Linked DNA regions of Homo sapiens: region 1 is linked to region 2. Evidence: promoter capture Hi-C in human tissues and cell types (Jung and others, 2019). All regions are on one chromosome and are shown on one strand. The core of a region is centred on a gene start or on the middle of the fragment in contact, and the rest is flanking DNA. Distances in the headings are between cores, read along the strand shown. Region 1 holds the start of DHDDS (dehydrodolichyl diphosphate synthase subunit). Region 2 holds the start of SLC30A2 (solute carrier family 30 member 2).

Evidence for each region. Contacts are between HindIII fragments. The study calls those that stand out against the background at their distance.
Region 1: the fragment with the promoter of DHDDS here is called in contact with the fragment with the promoter of SLC30A2 in region 2 in 1 of the 25 tissues and cell types used here (mesenchymal stem cells).

The regions. Positions count from the first base shown.
Region 1 is chr1:26,431,016-26,436,738 of GRCh38, forward strand. It overlaps DHDDS (dehydrodolichyl diphosphate synthase subunit), which reads left to right and starts at 1,306. Exons shown (of 9, transcript NM_205861.3): 1 at 1,306-1,361; 2 at 1,876-1,993. The coding sequence starts at 1,931. LOC124903883 (a long non-coding RNA gene) reads right to left here and starts at 1,222. Exons shown (of 2, transcript XR_007065557.1): 1 at 958-1,222; 2 at 1-103. RefSeq lists enhancers at 525-1,061, 846-905, 976-1,035, 1,062-1,598, 1,136-1,625. The HindIII fragment of the contact is 9,291 bases long and covers 1-5,723 here.
Region 2 is chr1:26,043,258-26,048,940 of GRCh38, forward strand. SLC30A2 (solute carrier family 30 member 2) reads right to left here and starts at 2,861. Exons shown (of 8, transcript NM_001004434.3): 1 at 2,590-2,861; 2 at 1,740-1,960; 3 at 1,041-1,187; 4 at 141-294. The coding sequence starts at 2,639. LOC105376910 (a long non-coding RNA gene) reads left to right here and starts at 5,001. Exons shown (of 2, transcript XR_001737948.2): 1 at 5,001-5,683. RefSeq lists an enhancer at 1,892-2,460. The HindIII fragment of the contact is 12,838 bases long and covers 1-5,683 here.

The sequences.
Region 1 (5,723 bases), core at 56-2,555, 390 kb after region 2:
AGGATGAAGCAGGAGAAACGCTTGAACCCGGGAGGCGGAGGCTGCAGTGAGCCGAGATCGCGCCACTGCACTCCAGCCTGGGCGACATAGCCAGACTCCGTCTCTAAATAAATAAATAAATAAATAAATAAATAAAAATAATACTGGTTGTATAAGAATCTGTAAAGAATTTTTTCCTCCTCTTTCAATTTTGAGAAAATTGAACTACAAATTTGTTTTGTGAGCCTAGAATTCTTGCAACCCTTTTTTTCGTAAAGGTTCAGTAGAGCTAATGCCCTTAACTTTTCTACCAGGGTTAATTTCTGTTATTTTCATTTATGTACTGCCAAAGCGAGCACCTTTCTGTTATTTTAGAAGTCATGCTTTTTTTTTTTTTCTTTTTTCAGACAGAGTTTCGCTCCTGTTGCCCAGGCTGGAGTGCAGTGGCCTGATCTTGGCTCACCGCAACCTCCGCCTCCCGGGTTCAAGCGATTCTCTTGCCTCACCCTCCCGAGTAACTGGGATAACAGGCGCCCGCCACCACGCCCGGCTCATTTTCTGTATTTTTAGTACAGACGGGGTTTCACGATGTTGGTCAGGCTGGTCTCAAACTCCTGACCTCAGGTGATCCGTTCGCCTCGGCCTCCCAAAGTGCTGGGATTACAGGCGTGAGCCACCGCGCCTGGCCTAGAAGTCATTCTTATGGCAGAAATCTTTCTGGCCTTACCCCTTCTCTTGAGTTCGTTGGGATAGGTCTTGGGAATCCACAAATCCTAAAATATGCGTGCCTTAAGTCGGCACAAAATAGATTAATATTCTGCGCGTCTGTAAGATTGGCTGCGGCTAGAAACTCCTTCCCAGACGATTAAATCCACTAAATAAAATACGAAACGGTAACGAGATAATTTTTAAGAGTATGCACCAGTGCTCTAATGAAGCCCGGTTCTGCGGCATTCCAAGGTAAGGACGCTGCCTTACCCAGTCTCTCAGCAGTCCTAAGCTGCCTTCGACGGCCGAGAAGCGCCTCGATTCTTGCCCCTGGCTCATTTCCCTGGCGCGTTTTCCAGACGCCTCCGCTCCCAACGCTGGGCTCAACCCTGTCTTCCCCAGCTGGTCTCCCAGCACGTGGCCTGGAGCCCAGCCTCCCGCCCCGCTCGGTCACGTGAGCCTGGCTCTCACCCGCGCCGGCTTCCACACCCCGCGGGACTGAGAACCGCCCTCCCACTAGCTCGCAGGCGCAGGCGCAGGGCAGGGTCCCCTCAGTTTGGGTGACGGAAGGGGCGTGTCGCAGCGCCCAAAGATGACGTGTTCTGCCAGCGCCACGTCATGAGGAAGTGCCGGCCCACTGAAGCCGTGGGGACGCGCCCAGCGGAGCTAATCAGGTGCCACTGAACTGAAGGGGTGAACTAGAGGAGAAGAGGGTGACTGGGCGGGGAGCAGCTGCGGGAGAAGCAAAGGGACGACTGAGGGAATAATCAGGAGACCACTGAGGCGTGAAGTACTAGGCGTGCGATAACTGAAGGAGTTAGTAACTGGGAGCACAGAGTTGGAAACAGCTTAGGGGAAGATGGAGAAGGAAGAAACGGGGAATGATCAAGATGTGGGCACCATGATGTGGCAGGAAACCGACTTAGATGTTCAGAAGAAGTCAGTGCAGATACGGAGGAAATGGGAATGGGAAGAAGTCTGCAAAGCCAGGAGAACCGAGGAAAGGCTTTTGCCTCCAGAGGTCACATTGCGTTATAAAACTCTGGGTGGTAAAAGATTATAGGCTTAGACCAGTGTCTTTGGATTCTAATGCTGGCTGCTCTCCATAGTCCATCTGATTCCCCAGAAGTCAGTTATAGCTCTTCGCAAACCTTGGTGACTTCTTATTTTCTTTCTTGTTTATCCAAGATTACCTGGCTGGTGTTTGCTTGTTCTGGAGTGATCTTCTGACTGGAAAAGAACTATGTCATGGATCAAGGAAGGAGAGCTGTCACTTTGGGAGCGGTTCTGTGCCAACATCATAAAGGTGAGCAATGGCCCAGAGCACCGGTTGGCCTTCTGGTCAGTTGGATAATCTTATATAAAAACCTGTTATTAAAGTTGATGATGTTAAGTGCAATTCATGATGTTAAGTGGAATTTAGCAAGGAAACCAAAGAGTCTTAGAATGGTAACTTCCAGGTCTACATTTCTGGTAGACTTTTGTCCTAACTCTGATATTTTCTGGAAGCCCAGGCCTCTTAATGTCACTGGGCAGCCTAGACTGCTAAGTATTCTTTATAGAGAACTGAAATTTGTTTCCCTGGAACATTGATCCATTGTTCCATGTACTGTCTTCTTGATTTAAATAGGTTAATCTTTGATATATTCTTTGATCTGTCAGTAGAGCTGGGCCCGGTCACTCACGCCTGTAATCCCAGCAATTTGGGAGGCTGAGGTGGGCAGATTGTTTGAGCTCAGGAGTTGAGACCAGCCTGGGCAACATGGCAAAACCCCGATTCTCCAAAAAATTAAAAAAATAGCAGGGCTTGGTGGTGTGCACCTGTAGTCCCAGCTACTCGGAAGGCTGAAGTGGGAGAATTTCTTGAGCCCAGGTCAAAGCTGCAGTGAGTCATGATTGTGCCACCACACTCCAGCCTGGGTGACAGAACGGGACTGTCTCAAAAAAAAGAGTTCAGAACAAGACTCTGTCTCAAAAAAAAAAAAAAAAAAAGAGTTTGGGCTCTAGACGCAGACAAACATGGGTGAAATTCCTGTTCTTTTTTTTATTTTGAGATGGAGTCTCGCTCTGTCGCCCAGGCTGGAGTGCAATGGCGCAATCTTGGCTTACTGCAACCTTCATCTGCCAAGTTCAAGCAATTCTCTTGCCTTAGCCTCCCAAGTAGCTGGGGTTACAGGCATATGCTACCACACATGGCTAATTTTTATATTTTTAGTAGAGATGGGATTCTCATATTGGCCAGGCTGGTCTCGAACTCCTGACCTCAGGTGATCCACCTATCTCAGCCTCCCAAAGTGCTGGGATTATAGGACTGAGCCACTGCACCTGGCCTGAAAGTCCAGTTCTATCATTTAGTAATCATGTGACTTTAACAACTGTAGAATTATCATGAGAATTTATGAGACATTAATATAAAGCAGTTAGCATAATGTCTAGCAGTTCTTAATTATTATTAGGATTGTCTTTCAGACATTTGAAGACTATTATCTCCTATCTTCCCCAAATCTTCCCTCAGCTTTTTCTCTAGGAATCACAGCAATATTATATCTGCCTAAGACAGGTTTGAGATTGGGGCCAGTCAGCTTGGTTTTGTTTTTCAACCACAGGCTGTCAAGCAGCAGGTAGTAATGAATTTATGAGTCAGTAACCTTTATACAAGCCCCACACATGCTCACAAACAAATGCCAAGTGATCTCAAGCAGTCCAGGAAATGGGAAGTATCTCCTTGGGGAACCACTGCAGTGGTATGTTTGGAAGAACAAGCTGCATAACTTGAATGGATTTTGGGGGCTGGAAAGGCTGTATGTGAGACAGAAGTAGAAAAAGGAGAAGTGTTGATGAGGAAGCAGTCAGGGAAGAGCCCTCCCAGGTGAGGAAAAATAGGCTAAGGAGTCCATTTGTGTTATGGGAGACAACTCAAAGCTGCTCCAAGCCAAATAAGGGTTTTGTTTTTTGTGGTTTCTTTTTTGAGATGCAGTCTTACTCTGTTGCCCAGGCTAGAGTGCAGTGGTGCAGTCTTGGCTTACTGCAACCTCTGTCTCCTGGGTTCAAGCGATTCTCCCACCTCAGCCTCCCCAAGTAGCTGGGATTATAGGCACCGGCCACCATGCCTGGCTAATTTTTTTTTTTTTTTTTTTTAGTAGAGTTGGGGTTTCACCATGTTGGCCAGGCTGGTCTCGAACTCCTGGCCTCAAGTGATCTGCCCACCTCAGCCTCCTAAAGTACTGGGATTACAGGCTTGAGCCACCACGTCCGGCCCCAAGTAAGTTTTGTTTGGCTCAAAAAAAGTCTTTTTTGTTTGCTTTGAAAAACAATTTTTTTTTTTCAGACAGAGTCTCACTCTGTCGCCCAGGCTGGAGTGCAGTGGCACAATCTCAGCTCACTGTACCCTCTGCCTCCCCGGTTCAAACAATTCTCCTGCCTCAGCCTCCCGAGTAGCTGGGATTACAGGCGCTCGCCACCACGCCCGGCTAATTTTTCTTTATTTTTAGTAGAGACAGGGTTTCACCATTTTGGCCAGGCTGGTCTTAAACTCCTGACCTCGTGATCCACCCGCCTCGGCCTCCCAAAGTGCTGGGATTACAGGCATGAGCCACTGCGCCCGGCTGAAAAGCAAAATTTTAATAAAAATCCTGATGTTTGGTTTTCTTGCAAGATCACCAGATCCAGCAATGTTGTGCCCCAGTTCCTGTGTGTCAGCAGTTGGCTAGAGGTCAGGAATTAGTGCCTTTTTTTTTTTTTTTTTTTTTTTTTGAGACAGAGTCTTACTCTGTCACCCAGGCTGGAGTGCAGTGGTGCTATCTCGGCTCACTGCAACCTCTGCCTCCCGGGTTCAAGCCATTCTCCTGCTTCAGCCTCCTAAGTAGCTGGGATTACAGGCTCCCACCACCACACCTGGCTAATTTTTGTTTTTGTTTTTTTCTTTTTTCCGAGATGGAGTCTTGCTCTGTCGCCCAGGCTGCAGTGTGGTGGCGTGATCTTGGCTCACTGCAACCTCTGCCTCCCGGGTTCAAGCAGTTCTCCTGCCTCAGCCTCCCAAGTAGCTGGTGTTACAGGCATCTGCCACCACACCTGGCTAATTTTTGTATTTTTAGTAGAGACGGGGTTTCACCATACTGGCCAGCCTGGTCTTGAATTCCTGACCTCGTGATCTGCCCGCCTTCGCCTCCCAAAGTGCTGAGATTACAGGCATGAGCCACTGTGCCCAGCCCTAATTTTCACATTTTTAGTAGAGATGGGGTTTCAACATGTTGGCCAGGCTGGTCTTGAACTCCTGACCTCAAGTGATCCACCCACCTTGGCCTCCCAAAGTGCTGGGATTACAGACGTGAGCCACTGCACCTGGCCCTATGAGTTCCTTTTTTCTGTGGAAGGTACCATCTTCATTTGACTATGCCCATCAAAATTTTTCCTGGCCAGACACGATGGTTCAAACCTGTAATCCCAGCACTTTGGGAGGCCAAATCGAGTAGATCTCTTGATCCCAGGAGTTCGAGAGCAGCCTGGCCAACATGGTGAGACCCCCGTCTCTACAAAATATAAAAAAATTAGCTGGGTGTGGTGGTGTATTCCTGTAGTCCCAGCTACTTGGGGAATTGAAGTGGGAGGACCTTTCTCCTCCCGAAAGGTGGAGGTTGCAAATGACCTGAGATAACACCACCACACTCCATCCACCTTGGGTAATAGAGTAAGACTCTGTTTTGTTTGTTTGTTTGTTTGTTTGTTTGTTTGTTTGTTTTGAGACAGAGTCCCGCTCTGTCATCCAGGCTGGAGTGCAGTGGCGCCATCTCGGCTTACTGCAAGCTCCGCCTCCCGGGTTCATGCCATTCTGCTGCCTCAGCCTGCCAAATAGCTGGGACTACAGGCGCCCACCACCACGCCCGGCTAACTTTTTGTATTTTTAGTAGAGACGGGGTTTCACCGTGTTAGCCAGGATGGGCTCGATCTCCTGACCTCGTGATCTACCCGCCTCGGCCTCCCAAAGTGCTGGGATTACAGGTATGAGCCACTGTGCCTGGCCTGAGTAAGACCCTGTT
Region 2 (5,683 bases), core at 1,611-4,110:
GAGCTCAGACCATTAGGGAAGTTCTGTCCCTGTAGCGTATGCTGGAAAGTGGCACAGTCTCTTTCCGCAAAGCAGACATAGGTGTGGGTGTGAGAGGCGGGAGGAGGAGGGGAGACGAGGGAAACTGGGGCCCCACTCACATGATGTTCACAGCCACAGCGCAGCCCGACGTGATCAGCATGGTCCCCCCGTCAATTTCATAGTCCCCAGAGATCAGCCGCTCCACAGCCAGGTACACCAGTACCCCCGTCACGACCCAGATGGACAGTACAGAGACCAGGGCTCCCAAGATCTCTGAGGAAGAACCCAACCCCAACACCCACCTTGGCATGGGCCTGGAGCTAAGGAGTCTTCCCCCTTCCTTCAGGATCCTCCCCACCCACCTCCCACACAAAGTCAGGGCCTGGGTCCCACTGGGCTCTGCTGAAGGTATGGCCGGTATGGCTGCCCCTTACCCCACCCCTCATATATCTAGGAATGTAAGAGCTAGAAGGAACTAATAAGTCATCATCTGAGTCCACCTTTTTGGTTGTACATGTAAAGAAGCTGACTTATTAAAGTATGTGCCTTTTGTTCAGCTAGTAAACTGAGGCTTCTGGGGAAGACAGGCTGGGCCATCTCCCACAAAGAGGAAGGTGACGATGCAGTCCAGGGTGAACGGAAGAGAGGTTAAAGCCTATATCTTCCAGCAGCCTTTGCTGGCCTTCCCCTCCCCCCAGAGCTGATCCACAGAGTTATGTGCAGTGTTAATGCCATTGTCATTTGTTCTTGAAGCTTGGCTACTGCACTTCTTAGGAAGGTCAACTTTGCTTCCCTGCAGACTGAGAGCTCCTGGATGACTGGGACCAGGGCTCCCCCATCAGACTAGGATTTCCCAGAGGACAGAGGCCATGGTTGACATCCTCTTCCCCCATCCAGATCACCCTCCTGGCCTCACTCAGGGGAGGAAGGGGGGATCCACCCATTACAGCCACCTAAGAACCCCTGTTCTAACCCACCCTCTCTCTCAACCCCATCTCCAGCCAAACCGCGATCCTCACCAGCTCTCTGCCAGCCAAAGTTCATGGTCTTGGTGGCTGGCCGGGAGGACATCCAGAGGGAGAAGAGGCTGATGAGCATGCTGGCAAAGTCAGTGAGCAGGTGTGCTGCGTCAGTCATGACAGCCAAGCTGTGTGCCAGGTACCCACCTGCAGGGTGGAGGGTCCTTATCAGCTCCCCCAGAGAGCTGGCTCCCAAGACTGTGTGTGCAGCAGGGAGACCACAGGCTCTGGAAGAGGACATTCTGGGCTCAAGATCTCTCTACCCATGAGCTGTACCACCGTGACAAGTGACCTACTCTCTCTGAGCCTCAACTTCCACTCTCTGTGAAATGGGCCACCAATATCTACTTAGAGGGTGAATGTGCACATCAAGTTCAAATAGGGACTGGAAAACATAGCAGATACTCAGTAAATGCTCTTCCCTTCTAGGAATTCAGGCCTTCCCTTAGCTACGAGTTGTGCGTGATCTTTGGCAAGTTACTTCACCTGAACATGCCTCAGTTTCATCATCTGTAAAGTAAGGAGAATAACGTCACCCATGTGAGAACACAGGTTGTTGTTAGACCTGCATCAGATAATGTGTATATAAAGGCTTACTGTAGTGTGTGTTCAGTAATTGGGGCTTTTAGTGTCAGTATTGCTGGGAACATCCAGTCTATCCATGCACCAACTTCATTTAATTAGCCCAAAAGTGCTTACCAACGACTTCTCCGATCATGAACAACAGGCAGATGGCAGAGGCTACATACAGCTGGCGCTGGGCCTTCCCCTTCTTGGGGTCACAGTGACTGTCAGGACCCTTCTGAGCATGGCAGTGATGGTTGCTCTGGGCAGCCAGCTCAATGGCCTGCAAGTCCAGGCCAGGTCGGGGCAGAGGAATCCAGCCAGCCCCTTCCTGCCACAGAGATCCCGTGTATGACCTGGCCAGAGGGGAAGAGAGGGAACGCTCAGCTCTGAGATGAGGTAAGGAGGGCCGACTCTAGTCCCATTTCTCTGTGAGGCCTTGTGTCCACTGGGAAAAATAGCTAAGGACGCTCCGAGCTCGACAAACCAGAGGTGAGAAGCCTGTATTCAGACGGGGATGATAGGGGAATGGGAGTCCTGGGGCCCGGGGCCCTTCAGAGGCCAGAGGAGGTGAAGACCCTGGGAACCGGCCAAGGGGCGTGCTGTCCAGTGGAGCGCGGGGAAGGAACAGAGCGCAGGCTCTGGGAGAACAGCAGGCCCCCTCCAGCGCACTTGGGACACAGGGCCTCCCCGGGGCGGGGCTGCCTGGGGCAAAGTGCTGGGCGGGGCGGGACTCCAGGCATGGGAACCGCCAATCCCCCGGCCCCAGGCCCCCCGCGGGCAGGGGTCAGAATCTGGGCTGCGCCCCAAGGGAGAGACGGTCCTTGGGCCACAGCCCATTATCTTCGTTCCCTCACCTCACCCCACCCCTCCTGCATGGTCCCAGCTCAAGCCGCAGCCAAAACCAACCACTGCTAGGATGGCAAATGCGGAGGTGCGTCGGCTGCCGCCAAAATTCCCGCCCGTCCCCAGGCTCTCGCCTTACCGGATTGCCGGCCTGGCGTCCAACAGATGCTGCTTCTCCTTGGCCTCCATGCAGTCCCGCGCCGAGTCCCGGCAGCCGCGCAGCCGCCCCGCCGAGTGCGCCCTGAAAGTTGCGCGCGGGACTCCGGGTGGCGCTCACCCACCTGCCCCGAGGGCCCCGCGAGGTGCGCTCACTCCGGCCCGGCTCCTGCGGCCCCTGAGCTCCCCCGGCTCCCGCTGCGGCTGCAGCTCCGGCTCTGGCTCCGCGTGCCAAGCGCTCCCGTGTCTCGGGTCAGCCGCTGCGCCCCGCGGCCGCCGGCTTTATCCGGCCCTCGCCAACCCGTGTGAAGCTGCCGTCGGCGCGTCGTGTGCAAAAGCCCGCGGGGAAGGGGGGGCGGTCGCCGGCTGCAAAAGGCCCGGCTGTGGCCCCGCACACCTGTGCCTGCGCCCATGGGGCCCGCGGAGCCCACCTGCCGGCCGCGAGAAGTTTGCCAGCCTTCGCCCGGCGCGGCGCCGGGTGTTGCTGAGTGAGGACGGGGTGACGCCTGCGCCCCCTCTCCCGCGCGGGGTGCGCCGCCTCGCCGCCGAAAAGTTCTCGACTTTAGTTTGTAGAAATCCGCTTTGGTGGTCCCGACGGCAGGAATGTGGCTCCTTGCCTCGGAAGAGGGTCTCCAGAGGCTACTGGGGCCGCGTCTGCCCCCTCCGACTGGCGGCTGCCCTGGGCTTGATCATGTTCCCCTCTCAGGCCGGAGACCCCCCGAGGTCGGCTTGCGTTCCTGTCCTCCTGCTAGGAGGGTCCTGGGGTGGGGTGGGCTGCGCCGCCCTCAGGCTGGGGCAGTGTCTCTCCCTAGGACCGGCTGGGACTGATCGACCCATCCTCGCCACTGAAGCAGCGCCAGCTCCTCCTCTCCTGCGCGCAGGAGAATCTGGAGTGGCCGGCTTTGTCTCCACCCGCACAGAGAACAGTGTCATCGGCAGTCACCATCGGAGCAGAGACGACCACTGCCACTGCTGCCACCCCTTCTCCCCTCCCCCGCAGCGGCTCCTGGGAGCCCCAGGAAGCCTGACAAGCAAGCCTGGGAGATGCAGGCCGGAGGTGCCACCGTGTTGGTACCGCTGGGAGAAGCCCTGTCCTTCCTGGCCAGCTTGGTGCCCCACCCACTTGAAGCAGCCTCCTTCCCTGGCGGTTCTTGGGGATTGGGGAGCCTGTGGCCCCCACGCTGGCCTCTGACAGGTGCCCTCTGTGTAGAAAGAAGCTGCTGGAGACCTCCCTGTCTGGTCAATTCGTCTCCCCAGCACCCTTTGTCGCTAGGACCATAGGCTTGGTGGGTATGGCCTTTCACAGAGCCAAGAGTCAGAGGTGCAGGCCTCTTGCCCACACCACTGGGGACAGGAAGGGGCTCTTTCAGTCTCTCATCTTGTAGGAGACGGGGTGCCAGGAGTGAGGATGTGAGGTGCACCCGCTCTGCTTGGGTCCTCACTGAGTGCCTCTCTGCTTCTCTGGACTCTGGTTTTCTTCTGGAAAACCTCAGACACCCTGGTTTTCTCCAGGTCTGTCTACTCTGAGCACCAGCAGGCTCAGCATTACCTGGAGAAGGTGTTACAACGCAGGTTACAGGTCCCTGCATCAGACCAACCGAACCAGAATCTCTGGGTGTGGAGCCTGAATATTTCCAGGATTCAGTAGGTCTGGGGCAGGGCCTGGGAATCTGTATTTATAAAATTCTCTGGTGCTATTGTGGCATCATTGTTCATTTTTATGTATAGTGGTTTTTTTGTTTGTTTGTTTTTGAGACAGAGTTTCATTTCTGTCTCTGTCGCCCAGGCTCGACTGCAATCTCAGCTCACTGCAATCTCTGCTTCCCGGATTCAAGTGATTCTCCTGCCTCAGCTTCCTGAGTAGCTGGGATTACAGGTGCCCACGACCATGCCAAGCTAATTTTTGTATTTTTAGTACAGACAGGGTTTCACCATGTTGGCCAGGCTGGTCCTGAGGTTATGATTTTTTTCAAAGAACACCTTTATCTAAAGTATTTAGGGATAAAATGTCATCTGGGTTTTGCCTTAAAATAATCCCAGTGGGGAGAGTACGGTACTGGTATAGAAGAAATAAATATGTCACCAGCTGTTGAAACTGAGTGATGGGTAAATGGGGTACACTATAACTATTCCCTCTACTTTTCAGTATTTAAAAAATGTTGGCTGGGTGCGGCGGCTCACGCCTATAATCCCAGCACTTTGGGAGGCTGAGGCAGGCGGATCACCTGAGGTCAAGAGTTCGAGACCAGCCTGGTCAACATGGCAAAACCTCGTCTCTACTAAAAATAAGAAAATTAGCCAGGCATGGTGGCAGGCGCCTGTAATCCCAGCTACTCAGAATTCTGAGGCAGGAGAATCACTTGAACCCGGGAGGTAGAGGTTGCAGTGAGCCGAGATCATGCCATTGCACTCCAGCGTGGGCAATCAAGAGTGAAACTCTGTCTAAAAAAAAAAAAAAAAAAAGTTTCAGAATTAAAGACTTGGGGAAAAATAAACCTTTCCTGGCAATTCTGATGTAGCAGCCCATGGAGCTGTATTCAAGATTCATTGAAAGAACCCCCTTGAAGCCAGCTGTCCTCTCTTGCAGCATGATTTTAAAGGAAGCATGTTGATCAAGAACCCTTCATACCATCTTAAGGGTTCTAGTTTGCAAGTACAGGAAGAGCCCTTCCTATGGCAAAGGAAAGATCCCCTTAGTTGCAATTAACAGGTATCTTCCTGGAATTTAATCTTTAACTGATTACCCAAAGTCTCAACTGCTCTCTCTTCTCTTCCATAAGTGACAAGATACGGGGCTGAAATGCTTGCTGCTTACATGATCAGTAGCCTGGAGAAGTAACAGAACATACACACGTTATAATACTGATTCTTGTGATTTCAAGGTGATGAAAACCTCTCTCTTTCTGGCCTCAAATTTCTCCTTCTGGACTCAAATCCCTTCAGTTTTCTATGGGAGGATACTTTAGGAGACCAAACCATAAAGAAAAACAAGTATGTGATTGTCAAAAAAACAAAAAAATTGACCGCTCCTCTTTCCGCTGCCCCAATCAGAAAGAGGAGCTGTGATGTGGTAGAGG